2 separate regions of the Homo sapiens genome follow, and region 1 is linked to region 2. Evidence: promoter capture Hi-C in 16 types of primary human blood cells and fetal thymus (Javierre and others, 2016). All regions are on one chromosome and are shown on one strand. The core of a region is centred on a gene start or on the middle of the fragment in contact, and the rest is flanking DNA. Distances in the headings are between cores, read along the strand shown. Region 1 overlaps HGSNAT (heparan-alpha-glucosaminide N-acetyltransferase). Region 2 holds the start of POMK (protein O-mannose kinase).

Region 1 (2,700 bases), core at 169-2,668, 100 kb before region 2:
AAAAGAACCAGAAACTGGATAATGTGCCCTGAATCATTTCCGCTCCTCCACAATTTGGTATAGCCTGAAGAAACAGGTGGAGTCACAAACTGTCATACAACGACTCCACAACCTACACGGTGAAAATGGGGTGGACTGCTCTGGAGCAGGCCAGTGACATCTGGTGTGGGCTGGGACAATGTGGGCCCTGCTGCTTCCTCCCTCAGCCTGGCTTTTGGACACCTGCCGCTAGGGCAGTGGCTCAAGACCCCAGCACCAAGGATGCTCCAGAGGTCCCTGGGCCTGCCTCCTGGTCACCATCCCAGCTCTGTTTGAGGTTGGAGGTGACTTACCTGGATAAAAGAATGGGGTTCCTGTCCACAGCCCCTTCACATCCACAACTGGGTACAGGACCAGCAGGATGAAGAAGGCAAAAGAACTGAGCGTAGTGACATACGAAAGGGACCTGGGAGGGGTGGAGGAGACGTTTCAGTGCTCGTACGGAACAAATCCAATTTCAGCATGAACAGTCATCCATAAAATCATGCTTTTTCCATACATACCAGAGATTTTTGTTTACTGGAATAAAGCCTTCATTTTCAGAAACCTTCGTCAGAGCAACAGAAATGAGCCCCTGTAATGGGGAAGAGAAGGATGTTAACATTTTATATTATTATCTCAGAAAACACTTGGTTTCAACACCAATATATATTAGTTATTTAATCACGTAGAGAGGGCTGAAACTTGTGCCTTATATTTTTCTCTTTTAAATGGAAACATATTTTTTTAAATGTATGAACTGAAAAATACTCTCCCAAAATCTCTTCACCATTCTACTGAGTTGAAGAGGGTAAGCTTACTGATTAAATGACAGTGACTCTGAAGAGGAGGCATGGCTGCGGTCAGGATGAAATGAACAAACAGTCAACCTTGCAACTCTCTTTCCCATATAATCTGGAAGTTGATGTCTGCAACCTGGTCTGATTTGCCCAGTCTCTCTGATACGCCTCTCCACACAGAGCCCATACCTCACATTTCTTCAGGCATTCCTGGCTATCTGATGGCAAACACTGCCTTATTGATAAAGACATTTTCCTAAGAAAATAAATCTGTGCATTTAGGTGGAAAGATTTGTTCCTCTCTGTTATTCAAGTGAAGAAAATGGTACCTGCTGCCATGTGGTGACAATGGCTAGCTCAGTGTTGCTAAACATTTTATTCCTTTTAAATATCTATACATGTGAAGGAAAGGAATTTTAGCGAGGAATGCTGCTTACTTACAAGAATACAACACCAAGCAGTGAATCGAATCAGGATGTCTTTGGTCCGAGCCTTGTAATACAATAGTATTTTTCCTGCCTGGAGGAGATAACACAGTGTGACCAAAAGAATCGCCAAAGGGATATTTTTATTTCATATTAATCCACTGTCTTAACTACCTGACAAAGAGATTCACTTGCTGGGCACGCTACTAGGTGCTGGGATTACAGGGAGGCGGGAAACATCACCTCTGCCTTTGACTAGTGGAGACTAACAGAGGAGCATGGGACCAGAGATGAACGCCCTCTCTGGGGAGGAGGAGGCATCAGAGAGGACGAGCCACAGAGGTGAGGCCAGAGCACCAGAGGGTCCCCGCAGGAAGAGGCTCCTGAGCAGAATGGGGCAGCAGGCACAGAGCTCGGGGGAAGCATGGTAGCCACACCACATCTCCACTGCTGCAGGGAATGCAGAAGCCCAGGTCATGGGGAAAGGAGGAGAAGGGGCACCTGGGCAGGCTCCGTGGCTCTTACTTCCAGGCAGGGCCCAAAGAGAATTCTCCACAAAGGTGACAAGGGTTCCGTCAGACAGGCCTGTTTGGTGACCCAGTCTGGGCAGCACTAGGAAGAGGGACCGGGACAGGGTGGAACCAGAGGCAGGGTGGGGGAGGCAGGGAAACATTTAAAAACAGTGAAATATGGACTTCACATACAATCCCTCTGAAATTAGGTATTCATTTTTGAAAACATCAAAGGATGAGAAGCTTTAAAAATAATTTATAGTAATAGCTAATATTAATCAACATTTTTTATGTGCCAGTTCTTAGAACTTTACATGAATTAACTTATTCAATCCTTGCAACACCCTTCTGAAGTAGGTGCTGTTGAAGCACAAGAGGGAGTCAGCCACACGCCCGAGGTCACCCAGCTGGGAAGTGGCAGAGCTGGACACAAACCCAGGGAGCGTGGCTCCAGGTCTGCACTCCTAGCCTCCCCACTGGACTGACCGCTCCAGTGATCTACCTAGAAAGTGTATGTAGGGATTACATGAATATACGGAATATATGGAAAAGCACAATATCAACTAGAAAGTGCTACAGAGATAAAGGCCGTATTTCTAAATACAAAATTATTTCATCACCAAAATGTACAGCTGATCCTTGAACAACACAGGTTTGAACTGCGCAGGTCCACTTATATGCGGATTCTCTTCTGCCTCTGTTACCCCTGAGACAGCAAGACCGACCCCTACTCCTCTTCCACACCCTCCTCCTCCTCTTCTTCCTCTACCCCTCCTCCTCCTCTTCCTCCTCTTCCTCTACCCCCTCCTCCTCTTCCTCCTCCTCCTCCACACCCTCCTCCTCCTCATCCACACCCTCACCCTCCTCCTCCTCCAGCCCCTCCTCCTCCTCTTCCTCCACCCCATCCTCCTCCACACCCTCCTTCTCTTCTTCCTCCTCCTCCTC
Region 2 (2,700 bases), core at 179-2,678:
AAAAACCACTGAAATTTACTGGTCCTGAAAACAGCCTGCACATTAAGGAATAAAGATGGTGGGGCAGGTTGGGCAGAAGAAATTCAGGCACGACTGAAATGCAAAGCATTTCTGACACTGATAGGAAGGCTTATTGATAGAGAAAGGCTTGGGACCCACTGCTCCACATTTACAGCTTAAAAAGAAAAGAAAAGCAAAGGGACAAAACTAGTTTTTACCGACTTACAAGATATTTTCTACAACTAGGGAAGACACAGAGTAATGTCATCCAATACAGTTTAGAGTAGAATTCCATTGCGCCAATAAAGCACAAGGTACATTAAGAGGATTATTTTAAATATTCTGAACGCTTATTTAGCCTTAAGGTTCTATAGCAAAGGCAAAGGGTGGCAAAGACAAGATTATGCAACAAAACAGCGAAATTTTGCTTTCTAAAAAAAAGAGAATATGATTACACTTAACACCTCCTGGCAACAATGATCTCGTGCAGAATAAACACCCAAAGGCAAAGAGCTGAGACAGAGTCCTCGGTCCTTTCTGGTTTTTTTGTTTTTTGTTTTGTTTTGGTTTGGTTTGGTTTTTGTTTTTTTAAACAGAGACAGCCTCTGCCGGACCCAGTAGCTCACGCCTGTAATCCCAGCACTTTGGGAGGCAGAGGCGGGCGGATCACCTGAGGTCAGGCGTTCGAGACCAGCCTGACCAACATGGGGAAACCCCGTTTCTACTAAAAATACAAAAATTAGCCGGGCGTGGTGGCGGACGCCTGTAATCCCAGGAGCCAAGACCGCGCCACTACACTCCAGCCTGGGCGACAGAGCGAGACTCCGTCTCAAATAATAATAATAATGATAAAGTAATAATAATAGAAACAGCCTCTCACTCTGGCCCCCAGGCTGAAGTGCAGTGGCGCGATTTCGGCTCACTGAAACCTCCGCCCCCGCCGGGTTCAAGCATTCTCCCGCCTCAGCCTCCGGAGTAGATAAGACTATAGGCGGCGCCACCGCGCCCGGCTAAGTGCTTTTTTACGGAGACAGAAGTTCCGCCATGTTGCCCAGGCTGCTCTCGCCTGAGCTCACGCGATCCTCCCGCCTCGGCCTCCCAAAGCGCTGGGATTACAGGCTGGAGCCACCTCGCCGGGCCCTTCTCTGGTTCTTTAACGTCCCGCTACCGCGCAGGGGTGGACGCGGAGATAGGGGCTGGGCGCGGTGGACACGGCCGCTCAGGCCCAGCGCAGCCTCCTAGGGAGCCTCCGGACAGGCCGCGGGCAGGCGGCCGGGGCTGCGGGGGGTGCGGCCCAGGCCACGTACAGGGTCCCCCGGGAAACCCAGCTGCACGCCCCCTCGCCCCTTCGCCCTCTCACCCCTCGCCGCAGCACCTACCTGCAGCCCAAGCCTCTGCGGCTCCTGCCACCCCGGGCCAGCACGCACTGGGCCTACTGCGCTTGCGCGTTCGGAAGCGCGTCCTGGGCGGGTGAGCGTGGCGCTGCTGCCCCCTGGCGTCCTCCTCCGGCCGTGCACTGAAGCCGGAGCGAACGCCGCGGCGGTACCAGCGCGCACCTACCCAGTCTCCCTGTCTGGCTTCTGCTTCCCTAACTTGGGAGAACGATTTTGTGTTGACCGACTATTGCTTCAGCCTGGAGCCAGGCTCATGCAGAGCAGCTGTCAGATCTAGACGCACTGCGAGGCCTTCCAAAGCGTAGTCCTCAGACCCGCGGCATCTGCAGGGACCTTGCTGGAAAGGCTGATTCCCAGCTCCGGCCCAGACCCGCCACTCGGGGACCCAGATGCCTGAAGTTGGACAATCGCTCTGTAAAAGAAACTGTGGGGCTTAGCCTAGACGCAGTAAAGCTGAGCTGCACACATCAAGCGCAGCAGACAAGACCTTGGCAAGCCTCCGCGGAGGGGCAGGACTGGGCAAAGGCGGGGAAGTCCGTCGAGGGCCGGCCAGGAGCCCTGCCGGGAGCCCAACACGCACTCGGGCGCTTGCTCCGGGAAACCGAAAGGGAGGCTTGCAGCATCGAAGTCAGCTGGGTCATGGAACGTCTAGGTTGTGTACATCGGAAGCGTTAGCTGCTTCTACACTGACACACTGCGAAAGTCCAGAATCAAGACAGTAACATGGTGTGGGTTAAAAAAACTGAGCCGGTACTAGCTATCCAAACAGTATTAAAATTAACAGAAACGTTTGCCTATCACATGGACAAACAGCGGTAATACCTCCTGTCGTTACAGTAGAGTCTGAAAGTTTCCTCACACATACAAGTGAGTGTAAATTGGAATTCCTCCTACGTGCCCTAGCAAATCCATTTCTAGGAATTTATCCTTCAGAAATAACGTCTGTGGCCGGGCGCCGTGGCTCATGCCTGTAATCCCAGGACTTTGGGAGGCCGAGGTGGGCGGATCACGAGGTCAGGAGACCGAGACCATCCTGGATAACACGGTGAAACCCCGTCTCTACTAAAAATACAAAAAATTAGCCGGGCATGGTGGCGGGCGTGAGAATGGCGTGAACCCGGGAGGCGGAGCTTGCAGTGAGCCGAGATCGCGCCACTGTACTCCAGCCTGGGTGACAGAGCGAGACTCCGTCTCAAAAAAAAAAAAAAAAAAAAAGAAAAAGAAATAATATGTCTGCAAGATGTATGCACAAGAGATCTTGCTGAAGCATTGCTGATAAAAGATATTTATAATAGAGAAAAAAAGA

What was found. Contacts are between HindIII fragments. The CHiCAGO score rates a contact against its expected background, and 5 or more counts as called.
Region 1: a contact is called between a fragment that was not itself captured here and the fragment with the promoter of POMK in region 2, in 1 of 17 cell types (M2 macrophages). The highest score is 5.2, in M2 macrophages.

Annotation. Positions count from the first base shown.
Region 1 is chr8:43,195,585-43,198,284 of GRCh38, reverse strand. It overlaps HGSNAT (heparan-alpha-glucosaminide N-acetyltransferase), which reads right to left. Exons shown (of 18, transcript NM_152419.3): 15 at 1,260-1,337; 16 at 543-613; 17 at 333-445. Among named protein-coding and RNA genes, the nearest start is that of HGSNAT, 56 kb to the right of the region's middle. The HindIII fragment of the contact is 1,164 bases long and covers 837-2,000 here.
Region 2 is chr8:43,092,243-43,094,942 of GRCh38, reverse strand. POMK (protein O-mannose kinase) reads right to left here and starts at 1,428. Exons shown (of 5, transcript NM_032237.5): 1 at 1,380-1,428. RefSeq lists a silencer at 1,191-1,400 and enhancers at 652-1,557, 1,558-2,464. The HindIII fragment of the contact is 4,326 bases long and covers 1-2,700 here.